Regions from separate parts of the Homo sapiens genome. Here all the other regions are linked to region 4. The links are contacts of gene promoters, found by promoter capture Hi-C in blood cells and fetal thymus (Javierre and others, 2016). All regions are on one chromosome and are shown on one strand. Each heading gives the region's core, a stretch centred on a gene start or on the middle of the fragment in contact. The rest is flanking DNA. Distances are from core to core; before and after follow the strand shown. Region 1 overlaps PLBD1 (phospholipase B domain containing 1). Region 2 overlaps ATF7IP (activating transcription factor 7 interacting protein). Region 3 overlaps PLBD1 (phospholipase B domain containing 1). Region 4 holds the start of WBP11 (WW domain binding protein 11).

Region 1 (5,584 bases), core at 3,085-5,584, 260 kb before region 4:
TGCTTGTGTTTGAGTCTATGTGTAGGATAAATTCCTAGAAGTGATTTAGATTTTAATAGATATTGCCAAATTGTCCTCATACGAATTGTTTAAATTATACTCTTCTGGCCGGGCACAGTGGCTTATGCCTGTAATCCCGGCATTTTGGGAGGCCGAGTCCAGTGAATCACCTGAGGTCAGGAGTTCGAGACCAGCCTGGCTAACACGGTGAAACCCCATCTCTATTAAAAATACAAAAATTAGCCGGGCATGGTGGCGCATGCTTGTAATCCCAGCTACTCAAGAGGCTGAGGCACGAGAATTGCTTGAGTCCAGGAGGCGGAGGTTGCAGCTGAGATCAACCACTGCCCTCCAGCCTGGGTGATATCGCGAGGCTCTGTCTCTAAATAAATAAATAAATAAATAAAACTCTTCCATCCTCAACAACATATTAAACATTTAGTTTATTTCCAATCTCATAGGTGCAAAACAGTATCCCATTGTAATTGATATTTGCATTTCTTTTGTTATACTGTATAATACATCCATACATTGGAACACTGCTTAGAAGAGTGAGGACAGATGATATTATACATCTGAAAGAATAAAGATGTATACATACCATTTAAGGAAAAATAAATAAACACTGATGTAGTCAACTCACAGTTTACGAAATGGAACATTAGCAGTGCCTTGGAAGTCTCCAATCTCATCTCTCTCCTTTCCCGCCAGCGGTCACCACTATGCTAAATTTTGTATAGCTCATTACCTGCCTCTCTATTATTTATCATCTATATATAATATATTTATCATCTATATATATTTTTAAGATATATTTTTTAAAATCTACCTTTTTTGAATTTGCACAAATACAGTCATATTGTGTGGGCTGGGTGCAATGGCTCATACCTGTAATCCCAGCACTTTGGGAGGTTGAGGCGGATGGATCTTTTGAGGTCAGGAGTTCGAGACTAGCCTGGCCAACATGGTAAAACCTCATCTCTACTAAAAATACAAAAATTAGTTGGGTGTGGTGGCTCAAGTTTGTAGTCCCAGCTACTCGGGAGGATGAGGCAGGAGAATCACCTGAACCCAGGAGGCAGAGGTTGCAGTGAGCCAAGATCATGCCACTGCACTCCAGCCTGGGTGAAAAAGCAAGACTCTGACTAAAAAAAAAAAAGTTAGAGTCTTACTGTATGCATTTTTCTGTAACTCATTCCTTTCACTGGGTATTATTGTTTTGACATTTATCAATATATATGTGTATATACACATATATATACACACATATATACACAGACATGTACATGTATATATGTGTGTATATATGTATACATATACATATATATACAAATACTGGACAAAATAGACAAAAAGTTCAAAGAAAAGCTATGCACATATATATATATATATATATATATATATATATATATATATACACACACACACTGGTCAAAATAGGCAAAAAGAGAGTTATATAATATAAATATTATTTATATATATATATATATATATACTGGCAAAATAGACAAAACATAATAAATGTAACATGTTATATAATATACAGATTATATACATATATACTGGCAAAATAGACCAAAAGACAGTTATATAATATACATTTTTCATTTAGACATATATTATCACGGGAAATAAAATATCCATAATTTTGGAAGTACATCAAATGGTACATTGGAAGCCTTAGTGATTCAGTAAAGCTTTCCCCCAGAATTAGAATGTATATGTGTTTGTGTGGATATGTGTTTATGTGAATGTTGTGGAGTGTGGGAAACATAGAACTTGTATACTTAAACATCTTGTCTTAATGAGCATGCAGTCTAAAACACTAGTTTTATCAGATTAGCTAAAAACCCAGTACATTCATACTATGCTTTTTAACCTAATCCTGAGCCCAGTATTATGGAAGATTGAAAATACACAGAAACAAGTTGGCTTATTTGTGTTTTGGGCTTGTAATTTTGTAAGTTAGGTGCTGCAATATGAGAGCTATGACAGTTCTTTTCCGTAAGGAATTTATACTGTAGTTCTACTTTGACCTGCTTCTAAATTGGAATGTTATTTTAAAGATAACATTCAATATTCTTACCATACTCTATAAATTCTGAGAAGCTTGTTTAAAGTCCTACCTTTGTCCCTTCTAATATAGCCCTCTTCTTTGCTCCTACATAGAGGCCATCTATTTGTGCCATCACATAGCCTGTATGTCTCCAAAATGAATCAGTCTTGTATTCTTTGATATTTTTCCGGGTCCACTTATCTTGCTTCCTGGAAGAGAAATTAGATTTGCACCACAGTCTCAATAGTTGCTCATTCAAAGCTAAATCAAAGCAGGCATTGAGAGATTATATACTCAGACACTTATGCTAATGTGATTTAAATTCTAGATCTTGTAACACTCCAGTCACTCAAAGGACTTCAGGGCAAATTCTAACTGATTTTTAATTTCTCCCTAGGGTTATGATTCTTCTTTCACAGCTTCTTCTGTGCTGTATCTAGAACAAAAGCATAAGTGTGATAGTGACCTAACTGTGATACAAGACCTAAACATGTCAAGGAGAGACTATCCAAATGCATTTTGTGTAAAACCACAATGTTTCACAAAGTCAATAAAGGTAGGTTGATTCACCTTACTTTTAGTTGTAGAAGTAGTAAAGTTAAACAACGGGACAAAAATCTAAGGACAAGGTGGTTTATATCTGTTTGTATTTCTCTCAGATCATTTGCATAGCTTATGATTCATTCCGTTTCAGTTGTTATTAGTAACCGCTTCAATGCCTCTGTCCTAGCATGGTAGCAAAAATGTCATTTTTTAATGGTCCTTTCACTCTTCTTCCAGTTCTCTGAACTTTTATGGGATGATTTGATATAACTTTGCGTACTGAAAACTATTTCTGACTTGTCCAGGCTATCACTAGCTCAATCTTAGAATAATGTCATTGCTTCATGGGATCTAGCCCAGTGGTTTTTAACTGAAGCTCTATAGGACTTTAAGCATTTCATGAAGAGGTTGCTTAGAGTGCAGTTTGGAGGGCCAACCCAAGAGCCTTTCTGTCCCCAAATTAATCTCCTGTCATCCCACAAATGTAAACACATTTAAAACTTTAGTCTTAGAAAACTTTATTAAAATGGAAATATTCTCAGAGGGTGTTAAGAGTTATAACTTTAGATATTATTGAAGACCTCAGCTAGGATTAGTAAGCAGGCTCATGAAAAGGAAACATCTTAAAGAGCGAGGAGAGGGGATCCCTGAAAAAAGGAGAAGGGCCTCCATGAGGAACAGACCCAGGGACTTAACACTGGTACTTTACACTGGTGATGTTCCTCTAACCGTGTTAGCAATTGAGTATGCGATATTCAACTCAACCTTTGAAAGAGCTGAAATTAGAGAGCATGTTGTCTGCAACCACTTTTCATGCCATTAGCAAAAAGTGCTATACCCTACTACAAGAATAACTCTAGAGTCCTGCTAAAGAGATTAAAAAGAAATTGGCAAAAAATTGCTGCTTGAAATTACAGATTCAGTGCCTCCAACATTTAAAACAATGAAAAGAGAAAAGCTATTATACGTACTCCATAAAATCCTGCACTTTATCCATGATGGAAGGTTTCGTGATCAGCTGTGGGTAGAGGTTTGTGTAGTGGTCATTCATGTGTCTGAAATGATACATGAAAATTATTACATTTATATTTTTCTTCTTGGATTTCTCCATCACAGTAAATTATTCAATCATTTGGCTAACTAGGATGTCCCTTATTACAAACTCTGCCTACTATCTTTTTTTTCCTTAATAAATGCACAGTTTCAAATTGGGAAATATTTACAACATATAGAAAAGGATAGAATATTGAAAACACCCCAAGTATTCACCGCTCAACTTTATTAAGTTATTATATTTTGCCATATTTGCCACATATATTTTAAAAATCAAACAAAAAATTTGAGTCGAAGCCTCTGTGTGCACTTCCTGATGCTAATTGTTTTCCCTTCTCCCAAGAGGTAATAACTTCAGTCTTGAATCTGATTATTCCCATGCATGTTTTTATGCAATTACTACATATACATTTAACCATAAATAATGTATAGAATTATTTATCATGTTCGCAACACACTATAAAAAAGATCATACTGGCTGGGCACGGTGGCTCATGCCTGTAATCCCAGCACTTTGGGAGGCTGAGGCAGGCGGATCACAAGGTCAGGAGATCGAGACCATCCTGGCTAACACGGTGAAACCCCGTCTGTACTAAAAATGGAAAAAATTAGCCAGGCGTGGTGGCGGGCGCCTGTAGTCCCAGCTACTCGGGAGGCTGAGGCAGGAGAATGGCATGAACCTGGGAGGCAGAGCTTGCAGCGATTCTTTATTTTAAAACTTAAAAAAATTAAAAATGTCTCATATGGTGTACAGTTAATATTTTTAATTGATTAAAATAATCCACTTATATTACTGGGATTTTAACATTCTTGGATTTATCTCTATAATCTTTTCTGTTTTCCATTTACTATCCCTTTATTTGTCCCCTCTTTCATGTTTTCTTTGTTTAGATAATACTTTTGTTATTTTCTTTTCAGTTTTGCTGATTTAAAACCTATAGAATGTATTTTTATTCTTAATATTAAAAAGATATAACTAATATTTTCTTATAAAGTCTAAATGAGTTTTATATTTCTCTCTTCCTCCAAACATAAAGCATATTTTAGCAAATTTTAACTACCCATTGACATCCTCCATCATGTTATTGTTCAAAGATTTAGTTTTACCTTTTTAATTAAAAATTTTGATTTAAAAATTATTTTCTTAGGCCGAGCACGATGGTTCACACTTGTAATCCCAGCATTTTGGGAGGCTGAGGTGGGCAGATCACGAGGTCAGGAGTTTGAGAACAGCCTGGCCAACATGGTGAAACCCCGTCTCTACTAAAAATACACACACAAAAAAATTAGCTGGCCCTGGAGGCGTGCACCTGTAATCCCAGCTACTTGGGAGGCTGAGGCAGGAGAATCGCTTAAACCTGGGAGGTGGAGGTTGCAGTGAGCCAAGATCATGCCATTGCATTCCAGCCTGGGCAACAGAGCAAGACTCCATCTCAGGAAAAAAAATAAAAATTATTTTCTTTTTAACCTTTACAATTAAATTGTATTAATTTTTTGTTTCTTGTATTAACGATTGTTCCTTATATACCACACCTTCCCTACTATTATACTTGCTAAAGTATATCCTCTAACAGTTTAATAGACGTCTTTGGGTGGTAAACTTTTAATTTATGTATCTGAACATATTCTTATTTTGCCCCTACTCTTGGATAATTTAAATGGTTATAACATTCTAGTAAGATATTTCTCCTCAATACTTTTAAGATAATATCTTGGTATCTTCTGACACTATTGCTGATGATCAGCAATATGCTTCCTGCTGAAATTCCTTTGTAGTTAATGTCTTTCCTTTCTAATAGCTTTTAAGATTGTTCCCTTTATCTTCAATTGTCTGCAGTCTCATCTGCTGCATTATAGCAATTTAAAAGGCTGTGTCTTCCAACTAAGGACTTGTGTTTTTTTGAAACGGAGTCTTGCTCTGTCACCCAGGCT
Region 2 (5,488 bases), core at 1,229-3,728, 300 kb before region 4:
AGTATTCTTTCAAAGGAAGCAAATAGTAAGATTACAATATAGAATGAGCTAAAATATCAAGGGGAAAGCTTCATTTCCTCTTTATTCTCTTTATCGTCCTTCCCATTTTAACCTTTTAACTTTGTTTTGATGGTGCCAAGTTGAGTCTGATGTACCCATTGTTAGCTTTGGATAGAATTTAAAGTATATCCCAGAATTAGCTGGGCATGTTGGTGCATGCCTGTAATCCCAGCTACTCAGGAGGCAAGGCTGGAGAATCGCTTGAACCCGGGAGGCGGAGGTTGCAGTGAGCTGAGATTGCGCCATTGCACTCCATCCTGGGAGACAAGAGCGAAACTCTGCCTCAAAAAAAAAAGAATTTAAAGTATATCCTTTGAGGTCATTTTATGTAACAATTAGATATAACCTCCTGTGTATCTCTCTGTTCCTCTTCAAAGTTATTAAAATTCAGCTTAGGTCATGGATTTTTAATATGAGGGCCAGCTGTACTGGTGTCAGGTAGGTGTTTTGGGTGTAGATAATTTAGGACTGGAGGGCTGAGTTAAGTTTTAGGAGGAGAATGTGGTTGAGAATATTTTGAAAGGAATTTATGGAGTTTGTGAAATAACTTCGAAGTCCTCTTCCTTTACAATATTTGAATTCATATTTGTACCTTCTCAAAATAGTGATTCATTTTTCCTAGAATTACAGGAGGGAGCTCTTTTACTAATGTTGTTTTGTTTGCAACTTTGATGGCTTATAATAGGAAGTATTCTAGTTGTAAAGAAAACTCTTTAGAGACTTTTGACTGGTCAGTATACTGAGGTGTGAGATTTGATTCATGATGAAGAAAGCCTATAGATTGCCAAAAAATTAATTCTCCAAACCACCTTTCACTCTCAGAAAATGAGACCACAAAGGAGTATGCTATAAATCAAATTTGCCAACCAATTATGTAGATATTACTCATTCTAGGACTAATGATGATGGTAAAGAAGTTGCCAGTGTTATGGCAATGAAAATTTCAGAAAGGAGGAGTTGATGATCTTCTAGATGTATATGAACACCTGTCTATATCTGCATGTATATGTTTTGACCTGCAGTGGTTGCAATGTTGATATGTGTTCAAGATTATTCCTGTCTACAAAACTGAAGGCCCATGTTCAAATTGTTCTTTATTGGGTGTTTTTATGGTCACGTGGTAACAATTTTCTTACCTAACCTACAAAAGGTTCTCTTGATGAACATTTTTATTTATATTTACTAATCTTTTTTAAAAAAAGCTTTCATAGCATTATATAATCAGATGAAGAAAGCCCAGTAGAATAAAAAAAAAATTCATTAGCCTAGCCTATATTATGTTTTCTGTCAAAGGAAAACAAATTCTCAAATAGGAATTCTAAAAATATTTACTAAAGTAAAATAACTACTTAAAATGTTTTATTCCAGTTGGAAGGAAGGTACAGGGAGAAATCGCAATTATTTAGGGGAGAAGTATATTTATTATAAGATGGTGTCCTCAAATTAGCCTACCATGGCACGTAGGGGCAGCAGCTATATTAGATTTACTAGAGGTGCTAAGTTAGAACACTAGGCTTTTATTGAGGCAGGTTTTAATATTGATAGATGCTTTTTGTTTGGTTTGTTTCTTCTGGGAGAGAATGGAGGACTTAAGTAGAAGTAGCTACTGATAACAGACTTTCTAGTAGCAGTTTCCACTCCACGGTTACCTTTTTAGTTTCATAGTATCTTTTCACAAAGTATTACAAATAAGCTAGATTCTCCCAGTTTGGGAATGCAAGTTTGCTACATTTTTAGCCTGGCAATATTTGTGTAGGTATTGCCTTATTGGAAATTCTGGAAACCTGATACTGCAACCTGCAATGTAGGATGTTTGTATGGCATTTAAAGGTAATGGTGATGTTTATTATTCTATACTTTGCATTCTGTGAGAGTAATTTTCACTCTGTCTTAAGTGTGAGTAAGCCTCTTCTAAAAATCTTGTTCTTGCCAAGAAATTTATAAATCACATACGAAGACGTCTGTTGCTAACAGTTAACTTTATGAGGTAACTATATCCTTCTATTTCTCTGGACTCATTTTTAAAAAATATGCCGAATACTGCATACTGTTTAAGGTAGTATATAAGTTTATGAGAGAAGTGGAGAGCTTTCTTCCTTGAAAAGTCGGTATTTGTTGAGATACCATTTGCCTCACAGAGAGGTGTTCCCCACTCCCATCCCCATTGCCAGATAATAAATATTTTGAGAAAAGTGACCTAAAACAGCTGAAATCTTAGGTGCATCTGTCTGCAGACCTCCTTAAGCAGGCTGTATCTTACAATTCCCTTACTGCACTGGGTAAGTGTTAACTTAGTTTTTGTTGTTTGCTCTTTTGCTTTAAATATTCTCCAAATTACCATTTATGCAACATGGTTAGGGTTAATACTGCATGGTATTCATTTATCTTGTTTCATGAACTTTCCAGTACTGTACAAGGTCAACAAAGTAATGCCTGTGGTATCCTCATCTCTCACTTTTTTACTCTGTGATTTTAGCACAGTAAGGTACTGCAAAGACCTTCCTTCCAAATGTTCTCCTTGACTTTATTTCTTGGGCCAATTCAGTATCCTCAACATCCTAAGATTTTGTTGTTTTATCACTGACCTGTGGTTGGCCTGTTTTATTCTAATTTCCAGAAAAGTCAAGTCCCAGTATTTGCAATATCAAATAACTCTAAAACCGATGTGTGATTCTACCTTCCTTACTATTTTTACTGGGCAAATGCCCTATTTTTTTAATTATTATTATTTTTAACTTTTGGGACACACAAAAATCAGCAATTCTCATGAAGCGTTTGTTAGTGTGGCAGACTTGTCTAATTCCTGAAACTCATTCATCCCCTTGAGCCAGCCAATGGGGAGGAATAGGATAATGCAAACACATGTTTTGTTTTCTCATTTTCAAATAATTTACCATGTTAAAATAAACTTTTCTTTGTTTTTTATTTGTAGAGTCAGCTAAGTACCCATATTTAAATGCCGTCTTTATTATTTTTTTGAGGTCTTTGTTTTTGTCTGTTTTTGTTTTGTTTTGTTTTGTAAATAAGGTAACTGGGCAATCAAACACCTTTTGGGGATTCTGGCTTTAGTATTTTATCAGCCATTTTAAAATTAAATATAAAAATCCTTTGTAAGAAACTTGCATCCTAATTTTTCTTTATTGCAATTGAAAGTGTAAATAATAAGACAATGTAAGTAAGACCTTCCTAATGTCTAATACAAACTGGGCTCCAGCAAGTGGCCCTATTTTTATTAGGGTTTTGAAGGTTTGTGTGTGTGTGTGCGTGCGTGTGTGTGTTTTTCTTTTTTAAATGTATAGTAGAGTGGTGTCTGTATAAGTGTTACCTGTAGTGGGGTTTTGTCCAGCAAGCCTGAAATTTATACTTTGAAATAAAACTACTGGGTTTTTAACATTCTGAGTACTCTGATTAATTCTGGTTATTCACCCTTGTGGCTTTTTTTCTTTCTTTCTTTTTTAAGAATCTTCCACCTTGTTTAGAATCACCCATTACATACTGTATGGTATGGCTTATTTAATCTACTTGGCAATTCCATGGCACTCAGATCACATGTAACTCTCCAGTTTCGAAAGAAAGTTGCTATGCAGGGTTGCTGCCAGATTGTATAGGTGCTTTTAGCTTATAGGAGGCAACAGTAAGCTTTACTGTATTGTATGCCTAACCTACATCACAAAAAGACTCAACTTATGCCTGTTAATGACCAGAAAAATCACTAACTACAATCACCAACTACTACTAGAGGTTCCTTTGAAAACGAAGCTCCAGCATCCCCTAGGGTTTTGTCATTAGGCATATTCATCCAGGGAAAGGGGAAAGAGCATAGGAGGAGTACAGATTCTTATGGGCGAGGCCTGGAAGTGGCACTCGTCTCAGGTTCCAATGGCTAGAATTGTCATGTGGCACAACTATCTGAGGGACACTGGGAGATGTGGTCTGTGTGAGCAGGCGTGAAAGGAGAACATGAATTCTGGTGAATGAAGGAGCTGTTTCTTCCATACCCTCTTGTGTATTAGCATGTATGCCGAAGCTTAGTGTTATTTATATATATATGTAACATTTCTTCTACAGTGCTCTACCTTATAGTGAGTGCTTACTGTAAAAACAACAAAGTCAGTGGGAAATGAAAGTGACAAATTAATATATTTTATTGCATAATTCTGATGGGAAAAACATAGCTAAAATAGTGCCTTTGGTATCTTATTTACAGTCTTCTAGTCCGTCATCTCCCTCCTTCATTTTATATCAAGTTTCAAAATTGGTTTCATGGTAATAAAATCAAAGTTGTAGACCTCTGGCATGCCCTGATGTAGAGTTTTGTTGAAACGGTCCCAGCGAAAAACAGGGAGGCCACCTTGTACTGTGGGACCACTTATGGCATAGGATGTGTACTGAGATGCTAGGTAGATATCTGCCACCTGGAAAGAGGGAGGAGGAGGACATTTTAGAAAATCATCGTTCAGCAAAAAATTAAATCCATGGCCTTCCCCACTCTCCCACTACCAAAGTCACAATATTAGCTTTTTTTTTGAGTCGGAGTTTCGCTCTTGTTGCCCAGACTGGAGTACAGTGGCACAATCTCAGCTCATTGCAACCTCTGCCTCCCAGGTTCAAGCAATTCTCCTGCCTCAGCCTCCCAAGTAGCTAGGATTACGTGGATGGGCCACCACACCCAGGTAATTTTTATATTTTTAGTAGAGATGGGGTTTTGCCTTGTTGGCCAAACTGGTCTCGAACTCCTGATCTCAGGTGATCCGCCCGCCTCAGCCTCCCAAAGTGCTGGGATTACAGGCATGAGCCACCGCGCCAGGCCGCCTTCTTTAAAACAAAATTTTCTTGCCATTTTTCACATTGTCTTTATATGATACAGTCTTCTGTATACATTTGGCTTAAATGTCAGTTGACTAGAAGTGTGTGAAATGAACAATGTAGCCAAAAGTGAGATATGAAGTCAGATTACTCATATTCAGAATTCTAGCTCCAAAGCTTATTTAAAAATCACTTAACCCCTCTATGAATCAGTGTTCTCCTTTGTAAAATGGGCTGATAACCCTACTTCATAGAGTTGGCATGAGGATTAATGCAAGCAATGCTCAAAGTAATGCCTAGAATAGATGAAGTTCTTAGAAAAAGTTGTTATTAATCAGGGTGGTAACAAGAGTCTGAAAGTAGATAGAGCTCACTGTCAAAAATTGAGGGCCGTGGTTCTCAAAAACACCTAACAACTGGCTAGCAGTGGGTCTTAATCTTAGAGGGGAAAGAGAATCTCTTCTTCTTTTCCCCATATTCAAAATGACTCTAAAGAGATAAATTACATTTTTAAAGAATATCCTTCAACAGAAACTTTCTGATAAGAACAATTGCAGGCCTCTGTCTCCAGAAGTGAGATTTGGTAGAGGGAAGCTTGGCTTGAGTTCTCCCAGGCAAGGCA
Region 3 (5,315 bases), core at 1,381-3,880, 280 kb before region 4:
AACAGCTGAGAATTTAAGAGGAAAATTTTGGGAGCAAGAGAACCACAAGAAGAGCAGAGATCCAAAATCTGAATATGAACTGTGTCCTGTTCCCTGACTGACCACTAACTGTGCATGAATGTGGGAAATGCCAGGGAGCCCAGGGTAAAAACAGAAAGAAATGAGAAGGGTTTTCCCTTGTAAGACAGAAATGTTCTAGAACTGAGATAGGTGAGTTTGCTGCAACTTACACTGCCAGGGTTCCCAACTCATATGCAGCTCAAATTCCTCAGGCTCTCAGAGGACAAAGGTAAGAGCTGGAAAAGCAAATGGGAATATAGGGGAAACCTTAGGATCAAGGAAATCACAAAGAGAGTTAGCTCTATAATATGAATTTGAGCTGCCAACATCTTTCACTGACTGCTAAATTACACAGATGCAGGAGCAACCTCCAGAAGACCAGGTTGAAGCAGCAGTGTTGAGGAAGGACATTGGTTGCTGCACACTGTGCAGGTGACATATGTTGAAGTTTGAGTGCAAGCAAGGTAATTGCCTGTTAAAAACAACAACAAAAAAAGTAAAACAAGTGACTTCAGCAAGATGTCTGACTAGAGGTGCCTAACATTCATTTCCCTACAAAAAAAAAGGAACCAAAATGATGAATAAACAACTACATTTTGACTAGAGTATCCAAAGGAGAACACTAAAGTGTTCCGAAGGAGTACAATAAGGGAGGGGCAGAGACCCAGTGGAGCATGGAGACTTGGGATGGCTGCATAAAAAAGAGAATGAAACATTCTGCCTTTGCCACTTCGTCTTCCCAGTCAAGGTCGGTATGAAACCAGGAGGCAGTCTCCCTACGGAGAAAACGTGAGCAGGAGAACTCCCAGCAATCTCCATTAAAGATGCAAACACCTACAGTCTTTGCTGCTTGAGAATTCTGCAGTTTTCACAAGTCATGAACCCATTCTAGGGAGCTGCCTGGCATTCACATGGCTGTATTACTCCAAAGAATGAGCCCACATTGTGCCTCCTTCTCCTCTGTGATCTAAGCTGCTGATGTACAGCACTATCTTGAGACCGGTGCCACTACTATAGTACACTGTGCTCTGGAGGGCCAGTAACCACTGTTTGTTTCTCCCCATCCTGAGGCTCTGCTGCAAGTACACTGTGCTTGTAAACAGTAGCACACCACTCACCAGTTGAGCAGCTACTGTTTCCTATCCACCAGGAATAAGCTGCCTACGATGCACTCCATCTTCCCCATCCCTGTGGCACAGCACCTCAACCTCAATTACTCAGAGCATAGGCCCAGTGAAACAGCCATAACCTTGGTGCCTGAGCCCATGTGGTGTCCTGACGCCCAAGGAACAGATGATCCTACCCAGCAGGAAGGCCACACCTTACCCTGAAGGAGCAGTCCCTATGCACTTGCGGTGTGTGTAACAGCCTGGCACTCCTGCCCCCAGAGGACAGACTGTGTCTAATCCTATTGGAGTAGGCCTTGTGCACCCGTGGCGCATGAAACAAACTGGCACCCTTGCCACAAGCAGAAAAGCCATGCATATGATTTGACAGAGCTGCCATACAAACTCCTCCAGGCTAGGATGCCACTGAGGCATCCATAGAAATTGCTAACATTGACTACAGCTGAAAAAACTGCATGGTGACTACACTACTGCATCCACCTGGAACCACAGCCAATGCATCCTCCACAACCGACACCTTAGGACACATCTGCAGGCAAAAATCTTTTCCTATGATAACAACTCTATACAACTGGAAGAGGCATCCATTCTATCAGATGCCCAGACATCAGTGCAGGGACACAAGAAATATGAAAAAGCAAGAAAACATGATACCACCAAAAAAACACAATAACTCTCCCATAACTGACCTTAAAGAAATGGCAATTTACTAATTGCATAAAAAATTTAAAAATATGATCTTAAGGAAAATCAATGAGATTCAAGATAATATAGATAGGCAATTCAATAAAATCAGAAAAGCAAATCATGATATGAATAAAGAATTCAACAGAGATATCATTAAAAAAAAACTCTTGGAGCTGAAGACTTTAATGAATGAAATAAAAAATATAATGGAAAGTTCCAACAGCAGACTACACCAAGCAGAATAAAGAATTTCTGAACTGAAGACAGCTCTTTGCTTGAAGAGTGAAGAAAGCCTACAAGACCTATGAGACACCATTAAGTGAACACATTTTCACACTATAGAAACTTGAGAGGGAGAAGAGATGGAGAAGGGCACAGAAAGCTTCACAAAATAATAGCAGAAACTTCTTAAGTTTTGAGAGAGATATAGAGAACTCTATGCCAACAAATATGAAAACTTAGAAGAAATGGATAAATTCCTGGGCACATAAAACTTAACGAAAATTGAATCATGAAGAAATAGAAAATTTGAACAGACCAATAACAAGTAATGAGATTGAATTAGTAATAAAAAGTCTTCCAGAAAAGAAAAGCCGAAGACCCAATGGCCTCACTGATGAGTTCTACCAAACATTAAAGAAAAACTAATACAAATCCTTTGAAAACTATTCAAAAGACATGAAGAGGAGGGAATACTTCCAACATCTTTCTATGAGACCAGCATCACCCCGATTCCAAAACCTGATAAGGACACAACAAATAAATAAATCTATTGGCCAATATCCCTAATAAACCTAGATACAAAACTCCTCAAAAAAATATTTAAAAACTGAATTCAACAGCACATTAAGAAAAATCACTCACCATAATAAATGGGATTCATTCCAGGGATGCAAGGATGGTTCAATATATGCAAATCAATAAACATAATACATCATATTAACAGAATCAAGGACAAACCCATGAAGGGATGTTGAATCTATTGATCTAGAAAAGATATTTAATAAAATTCAACATCCCCTCATGATAAACACTCTCAACAAAACAGATATACAAGAAATGTAACTCAACACAATAAAGCCCATATATGACAAATTCACAGCTAGCATCATACTGAATGGGGAAAAGTTGAAAGCTTTTCCTCTAAGATCTGGAACAAGACACAAATGCACCACTTTTATTTAACATAATACTGGAGGTTCTAGCCAAAGCAATCAGGCAAGAGAAAGACAAAAAGAGCATCCAAATTGAAAAGGCAGAAATCAAACTGTCCCTGCTTCCAAATGACATAATCTTATACAGGGAAAACCCTGAAAACTTCACCAAAATACTGTTAGAACTAATAAGTAAATTGAGTACAGTTGCAGGATATAAAATCAATATACAAAAATCTATAGCATTTCTATATGACAATAGCAGACAATCAGAAAAAAATAAGAAGGCAATTCCATTTACTACAGCTACAAAAACAAACACTTAACTAAGCGGGTGAAAGATCTCTATGATGAAACCTATAAAATATTGACATAAGAAATGAAGAGGATACAAATGGAAAGATATTCCATGTTTACGGATTTGAGGAATTTTTAAAAAAATGTCCATACTAATCAAAGCAATTGACAGATTCAGTGCAATCTCTATCAAAATACCAATGACATTCTTCATAGAAAGAGAAAAAAATCTTTAAATGTGTATGGAACCTCAAAAGACCCCAAATAGTCAAAGCAATCTTGAGCAAAAAGAACAAAGCTGGAAACATCACACTACCTGGCTTCAAAATATACTACAAAGTTATAATAACCAAAACAGCATAGTACTGGCATAAAAATAGACATATATACTAATAAGACAGAATAAAAAATACAGAAATAAATTCACACACTTACAGCTAATTGATTTTTGACAAAGACACTAAGAACACACATTGGAAAAAATTCTCTTTGATAAATGGTGCTTGGAAAACTGGGTATCTACATGGAGAGGAATGAAACTAGACCCCTTGCTGGGTATTTATCCAAAGGAAATGAAATAAGTATGTTAAAGAGATATCCACACTCTCATGCTTATTGCAGCACTATTCACAATAGTCAAGATATGGAATCAACCTAAATGGCTATCAACAGATGAATGGATAAAGAAAATATGATACATATACATATAATGGAATACTATTCAGCCATAAAAAGGATCAAATTATGTCATGTGTAGCAATGTGGATGAGCCCTGAGGGCATTATGTTAAATGAAATAAGCCAGGCACAGAAAGACAAATACTCCACAATCTCACTCAGATGTGGAATCTATAAAAGCCGATCTCATACAAGTATAGAGAAGAACAATGCTTACCAGCAGCTGGGGAGGGTAGGCAAGGTGGAAAGGGCTTAATCAACAGGTACAAAATTACAGTTAGATAGAAGGAGAAAGTTGCGGTATTCTATTGCACAGTAGGCTTACTATAGTTAACAATACTATATTATATATTTTAAATAACTAGAAGAGAGATTTTTGAATGTCCTTACCATTAGAAAGTGATAAATGTTTGAAGTGATGAATATTCTAAATACCATGATTTGTTCACTACACAATGTATACATGCATCAAAACATCACACTGTCCCCTATAAATATGTACAATTATATGTCATTTAAAAATAAAATAAAACATAATTCTCAAAAATACACATTTCAGAGACACTATGGTGTGCTATTTTTCAAGTCCACATTTCAACCAAAAATTACCAGGCACTACAGTTAACAATATTGTGTTACATATTTCAAAATAACTATAAAAGAGGATTTTGAACGTTCTTGCCATAAGGAACTGATAAATGTTTGCGGTGAAGAATATACTAAATATGTATATACATTGTGTAATGATCAAGTCATGGTATTTGCTATATTTGTCACCTCAAAAGAAAAAGGAAGGTACGACCCCACACTTAAGTCACTGGAAACTGTTTCCAAGTAGGTCTTGATATTGGGTTTAGCGGACAAAGACAAAACAGGAAAATATGGTTTTAAGAGTTACCAGAGAGGGAATCTCAACATAAAATTAGAAATTAAAGAAAGAACAAAATTGAAATTCTAGATCTGAAAAGTACAGTAAATGAAATGAAAAACTCACTGTATACTTCAACAGTAAATTTGAGATGGCAGAAGAAGGAATTAGAAAACCTGAAGATTGTGGCTGGGCATGGTGGCTCACGCCTGTAATCCCAGCACTTTGGGAGGCCAAGGCGGGTGGATCACCTGAGGTCAGGAGTTGGAAACCAGCCTGGCCAACATGGTGAAACTTCATCTCTACTAAAAATACAAGATTAGCCCAGTGTAGTGGTGCATGCCTATAATCCCAGCTACTTGGGAGGCTGAGGCAGGAGAATCGCTTGAACCTGGGAGGTGGAGGTTGCAGTGAACTGAGATCGCATCACTGAACTCCATCCTGG
Region 4 (5,381 bases), core at 1,392-3,891:
ATTTCCTCCAATTTAATACAGGTAATTCTTTATTGTGGAAAGTTACAGTATGCACTGTAAAAGAGCAGCATCTTTGGATTCTCTCCACTACATGCCAAGAGCATCCCTCTAATTATGACAACCAAAAATGTCAAGACATTTTTGTTTAATGTTTCATAAAAAACAACTATGAATCTGAAGGAAAAACATAACATAAAACGCGAAACAAGGGCTCGCAAAACTAATTTGCTCAAAATTTCCAATATAAAAAGAAAGATTTCAGCCAATTCTACTTTGCAAGTCAATCAAATTTGAAAAATAAAATACGGGTACTAATTTCTTTGCATATTTAAAGTCTTAATGTGCCCATACAAACCCTGAATATATAATTTATTCCTCCTATCACTGCTGGTCTTGTAATTAAGCCACAGAGAAAGAAATTCCCTAATATTTGCAATTTTTAACACTCTCCTACTTCATCATTCCACACTAATGGACACTTACGGGCTTGGTCTGTGGGGTTCATAAATTTTCCACTCTTGGTGGATGATGTAGATCTCCGTCCCATGTTGACAATTTGTATGGTTTACTTGTTCATTAAAAAAAGAAAAACCTGTGAAGGTGAAGACAAAGAAATAGCTTATATCTCCTAAATGTATTTCTTCCTTTTTCTAGTCCCTACCAATCTCTGAAAAAAAATTCCTTTAATTAGAAATTCTGTGAGACTGTTCTTTCCTTAGTTTTGACTTTAATGTCCAAGAAAGATGGCATCACCTTTCTTGACCATGAAAATTTAGATCTCTATCATTCTTCAGAAATGTGATGAGTGTGAAGACCACTTTGAATATCCTCAAGTCATCAGTTTAGCTTTTTTCTTATGGATCACAGCACTGACTTTGTCAACTGATAAAAACAACTAGAAAATGCTTTAACGATATGGCACAAACCATGAACATCAGAATTCATTAGTCCTTCTTCTATAACCTCCCTTTATTAACATGTAATTGTAAAAGAAGAATAAGAAGGGAATGGGGGTAATGGATCTAGGCTCAAAACACATACCTCACCTTTGCCTCTCTCCATGGTTTTTCTTGGCATGTATGCTGTACATTCTCAATACTTCTAAGACACTAAAAACTCATTAATTTAAGCATATTTAATTCAGATTCAGTTCTAGTTCAGATATAATGCTTGACTCTCAAGAGTTCAAAACACAACTAAAAATGCAAATATTTGAAATTAGTGCTATACTGAGAGCTCCCCAAAACTTAAATATTAAGACACATATTTTTCTTACTAAGACCTGACTCCCAATATATATTTCTTAAGGTAATTAAAGGGAATACTTATTTTTGTTTGAGGAAAAAATATTTTGTAAGCTAAAACTTTTATTAACACAGTACCCTATTACATGACTTCTTCCTCTTATTCCAAAATAATGGGGCTTAATTTTTTGAAGCGCAGTCTTTCCAGTAATAAAGGCGGACAAATTTGCTTCCTTTTGCAAGTAGACACTTTTTAAAGGTAAGAAAGGGAAGATTTTGTCAGCCCAGTTTATTACAGTTAATGTCTCTTTCACCAAGTGTCCAACTGCCCCGAAAGCCAGATGTTTCAGAAAGCCAGATGTTTCACAGCTGTTCTGGTGGCAATTACTTCAAGACAGCGGTATCAAAGGCTCTGATTTTTAGCTTCCTCATCTAAAAAATGGGGACATCAATTACTTTATAACAAAGCTCTGATGATACAATGAGATTACAAATAAAATATCCTGTGATGTTTGACTCACTACTTAACTAAAATCTTTATAATGGATCCATATTCCTGGCCTAGCTACCATACACCCTGTCAAGTGGTTTCCTTCTAAGAAAAACTGGGGATGGGGGGGTTAGGGGGGTGGGAGAGCAGCAGGGAGTAGGAGGTAGGGAAGGAGGAAAACAAGCAAAATCAGTACATATACAAGCTCTCCCATCTTTGATTGCCTGCGTTTTTTGTGCTTTCCTTTCTCAAGTTTCCTCAGGCTCATGTTCTGAATCTCCTCCCCCACAAATGAAACACAACGGATACGAATTACAGAGAATTTTACGGAAGACACTGGAGCTTAAGTCTGCAGATTAGTTTTTTGTCTACAAGCGGAGGCGACTGGAAAATCAAGCCAAATAAGCGTTGGATAACTCTAAACAGCCAAAGAAGCTTCAATGGGATAGGGTCCAGGTTCACCAAAGGAGGCAACACCAGCAACTGACGAAACCATAGCGACGGCTGACCGACCATGACTCGAGGTACAAGACGTCAAACCTAAGGCTACTAATCAACGTGCGTAAGAAGCGGCCCCAACCGACCCGGGCGATGCCAACCGCGCAACCACTGGTCGCCGCGCCACCCCAGGCCCAGGAATAGCCCAGTCCGCAACAGGGAGACCTCAACCAGGGAGAGGAGGAGCGGGGCAAAGGGGCTGGGTGTCCCCCAAGCCGCTGCGCGGGACGTGGAAGGGACGAAAGAGGTGAGGAAGAGTAGTAAATCAATTCAATACACTCACACTTCTGCTGTGCTCCCAGGACTACGAGAAGCGGGTAGGGGGCGACTCCCGGCCTCTTTCACTTCGTAAAGGCCTTCAACTGGGTCTCTCGGTCAACCCCTCAGCTACCGCCATCTTGAAACCTCGCGCCCCTCCGCACTCCTCACGTCATTTCCCATTCCTCTGTCCCGCCTTCTCTTAGCGCCGCTTGACCCTGGAACCATAGAGAATACCCAAGAATTCCAGGACCAGAGTCTCTTCCGGTTCCATACAATACTCAATTGGTTGGTTGTCGGCTAAGAGCCCGCCTCATTGCGCTCATCTAGTACAATAGGAATTAGAAGAAGATAGCTGCTAACTGAGTGGCTGACGGTCCTGTCTCTCGAGTTGGAGGCATCTTGACTTAGTTGCTGGGAGCCTGGTACGTTGAGCCGTCCGAGAACGGTACATTCTGCAGATAAAGAAGCGTTCTGCGTTTTCTGTCTTTTGGAATTACCTTAGTTTTTGCATTTTTCTGTTTCTTATGACCCAAGCAGGTGCGATCCTTTAGGGGTGTCTCCGTGTGTAAACGAATACCCAGATAACATTTGCCACTGAGTTTAATCCGCTTTGTAAGCATCAGGTTATCCCATGTGAGCGCCTAGTACGTGTGGAAATTTAATAGACAGGCAGAACAGAACGTTTGTAGACCACCTGAACAAATAAATTAGCACCCGTATTAGAGTCGCAGATTGCTTATATGGGCGGTGATTTATTATTTGTTAGTAGTGTTTTGAAGAAGAAATACGGGGATACATATGCAGTCGGTTTTAAGTTATATGAGTGGCAAGGTTGATATATATTGGCTATATTCCCGACTGGTCTTTTCACCAGCCAAAAGTCCTCTATGATGTCACTCTACGTACGGGATTCTTCACTTAACTCTAGCCTTCGCCCTTTCCCTACCTTCTATCCCCTCTTTCCGTGAGTCAGCCCCCACTTATTTCCCTTAAAGGTAAGTTTAAACATTTAAAAAACTATCTTAGAGGATACGCTTGGTTATTTCTAATCTTAACCTGACTATCCCATGTAGGAAGGCTATTCTTACCACCAGTTATAAATATTTCAAAATATTGATGGAGATACATACTAATTTTTAGCAGAATCTTTAAACTGCCCTTGAAGGTATAAGATCGGTCCTATACCTAAACTTACCTTTGTGTTAGGAAATTCTTGATTTGATTTTAGACTGAATTTGAGTGTCAGAAAGCAATGACGAGATATTGTAGGTTAAAGCTGATAAACCAGGTAGTACATAAAAAAGAAAATAATCTTGAACTGCGAAGGTGAGCTAAGTTGTAATGTTTTGCAACTAGTTTTTTTTCTTTCCTAACACATTAGTGATCATAGTTTTGCAACTCGTTTTGAAAAACAATGCAAGAAGAGAAAGAGAAAACAGTGTATGTTGGAAATATTAAAGTCTTTCATGTAGCTAAAATTTTATATGTAGCTACTATTTTTAAGATATGCTGAGCAGTTTTTATTTCAATACATTTCTTGTACTTGGATGGGAGAATCAACTATAACAAACACAGTCTGGCATCAACAGCATATTAATAATTTTGTCAGTATAGACTAAAAGAGTCCTCATGGGAATTATTGGTTGGCAAAGGATTTAGAAAACAAACACATCTGCAGAGATTCAGCGGAACCATTAATAGGCTTCCATAGCCTTTGGCGTTTTCTAAAATCAGGTAATTAGTGAAATGGCCCACCTAATGCGTCATGTAGCAAAGGCAGCTGCCTCCTTTTTGCTAGTGTTGAAAATGAAATTATATTCTTTTTTCTGAAAGCTTATAATAAATTATGACTTTCTTTTAAATGACAAATGCTTTGAGTAGTGACCTTCTATTCTGCATCCTAAATGCAATATGTGTAGCTGTGTTTTGCTTTCTTGTCTTCTAAATGTTTCAGTGTTTGAACATTCACTTGAGCGATATTTAATTATCACAGTTGGTCAGGGTTGATTGCAGTGACTGAAACAGGACCTTGATGTTTTTAGTTTTGATTTTTACCATTTTCAAATCCATCCGGTTTACATTGTGTAATCAGTAGACGTTTACAGATCAGCTTCCTGTCCTAATTGAAGCACATTGTTACAAACCATTTTTCAGTCTCTTCTAGTTTACAGAAAACCAGATTTACTCTGATGGTCAAAAATATGGTAGTATTTCTGTCTCATTCGAAGGCCTAGAGTTTGTGTCTAGGCAGAAGTTACTGAGTATGTCCCCTTATAACTAAATGATGTTTGAAGCTGGTGGTAGAAATGAAAGTCTCTGCATTCAATGTGAAATTTAAGAATTTTACTGAAATTAGAAAAGAGAAAAGTAACCCCTATACTTGCTACTCTACGATAGCATTTACCCCAATGTTGATCTGGTAGAGCAGGGTGTGAAAACATCCAGGGAGAAAATTTTTTTACCTCACAGGGTCTAGCATCAGCTGATCCAGGCATTGTTGACTCAAAACTCATCTAGTCATCTAGTCTTGGCATCTCCAGTTTCCCTCTCCAAATTGTTTATCTTATTTAAGTCCATATTGGAAGCCTATAGAAAATGAACCTAATCAAAGAAGCAAACACTGTTACTGAAAAGGAAGCAGAAAAACACTTCAGTGGCAAATAAAACGGCTGTTCATTTCATTTGGTGTTTCACTGTATTGATGACCTCAGTAATGGCATGATTATATTTTTCTGAGGCTGATTTGAACTCCACCAGATGCTTCTCATAACTTTTGATGGCTGCTTGAAGCTGTGTTTTTTCCACTGCTCCCAGGATGGCACGGACAATCATATCTATGCCAAGGCCAAGAACAGCAACTCCAATACTACCAAGGAGAGAAGCACCAA

Evidence for each region. Contacts are between HindIII fragments. The CHiCAGO score rates a contact against its expected background, and 5 or more counts as called.
Region 1: a contact is called between a fragment that was not itself captured here and the fragment with the promoter of WBP11 in region 4, in 1 of 17 cell types (neutrophils). The highest score is 6.7, in neutrophils.
Region 2: a fragment that was not itself captured here is called in contact with the fragment with the promoter of WBP11 in region 4 in 1 of 17 cell types (neutrophils); the score reaches 6.1 in neutrophils.
Region 3: a contact is called between a fragment that was not itself captured here and the fragment with the promoter of WBP11 in region 4, in 1 of 17 cell types (neutrophils). The highest score is 5.0, in neutrophils.

The regions. Positions count from the first base shown.
Region 1 is chr12:14,538,638-14,544,221 of GRCh38, forward strand. It overlaps PLBD1 (phospholipase B domain containing 1), which reads right to left. Exons shown (of 11, transcript NM_024829.6): 3 at 3,571-3,654; 4 at 2,127-2,265. It overlaps PLBD1-AS2 (PLBD1 antisense RNA 2), which reads left to right. Exons shown (of 5, transcript NR_187784.1): 4 at 2,454-2,612; 5 at 4,801-4,938. Among named protein-coding and RNA genes, the nearest start is that of PLBD1-AS2, 11 kb to the left of the region's middle. The HindIII fragment of the contact is 4,455 bases long and covers 2,108-5,584 here.
Region 2 is chr12:14,499,480-14,504,967 of GRCh38, forward strand. ATF7IP (activating transcription factor 7 interacting protein) reads left to right here. Exons shown (of 15, transcript NM_018179.5): 15 at 1-3,451. It overlaps PLBD1 (phospholipase B domain containing 1), which reads right to left. Exons shown (of 11, transcript NM_024829.6): 11 at 4,182-4,475. The coding sequence ends at 4,293. Among named protein-coding and RNA genes, the nearest start is that of PLBD1-AS2, 28 kb to the right of the region's middle. The HindIII fragment of the contact is 2,437 bases long and covers 1,261-3,697 here.
Region 3 is chr12:14,519,924-14,525,238 of GRCh38, forward strand. All of the region lies in intron 6 of PLBD1 (phospholipase B domain containing 1), which reads right to left. Among named protein-coding and RNA genes, the nearest start is that of PLBD1-AS2, 7.6 kb to the right of the region's middle. The HindIII fragment of the contact is 753 bases long and covers 2,255-3,007 here.
Region 4 is chr12:14,800,837-14,806,217 of GRCh38, forward strand. WBP11 (WW domain binding protein 11) reads right to left here and starts at 2,642. Exons shown (of 12, transcript NM_016312.3): 1 at 2,516-2,642; 2 at 484-592. The coding sequence starts at 547. It overlaps C12orf60 (chromosome 12 open reading frame 60), which reads left to right and starts at 2,834. Exons shown (of 2, transcript NM_175874.4): 1 at 2,834-2,915. SMCO3 (single-pass membrane protein with coiled-coil domains 3) reads right to left here. Exons shown (of 2, transcript NM_001013698.2): 2 at 3,814-5,381. The coding sequence ends at 5,167. RefSeq lists an enhancer at 2,938-3,177. The HindIII fragment of the contact is 2,157 bases long and covers 2,168-4,324 here.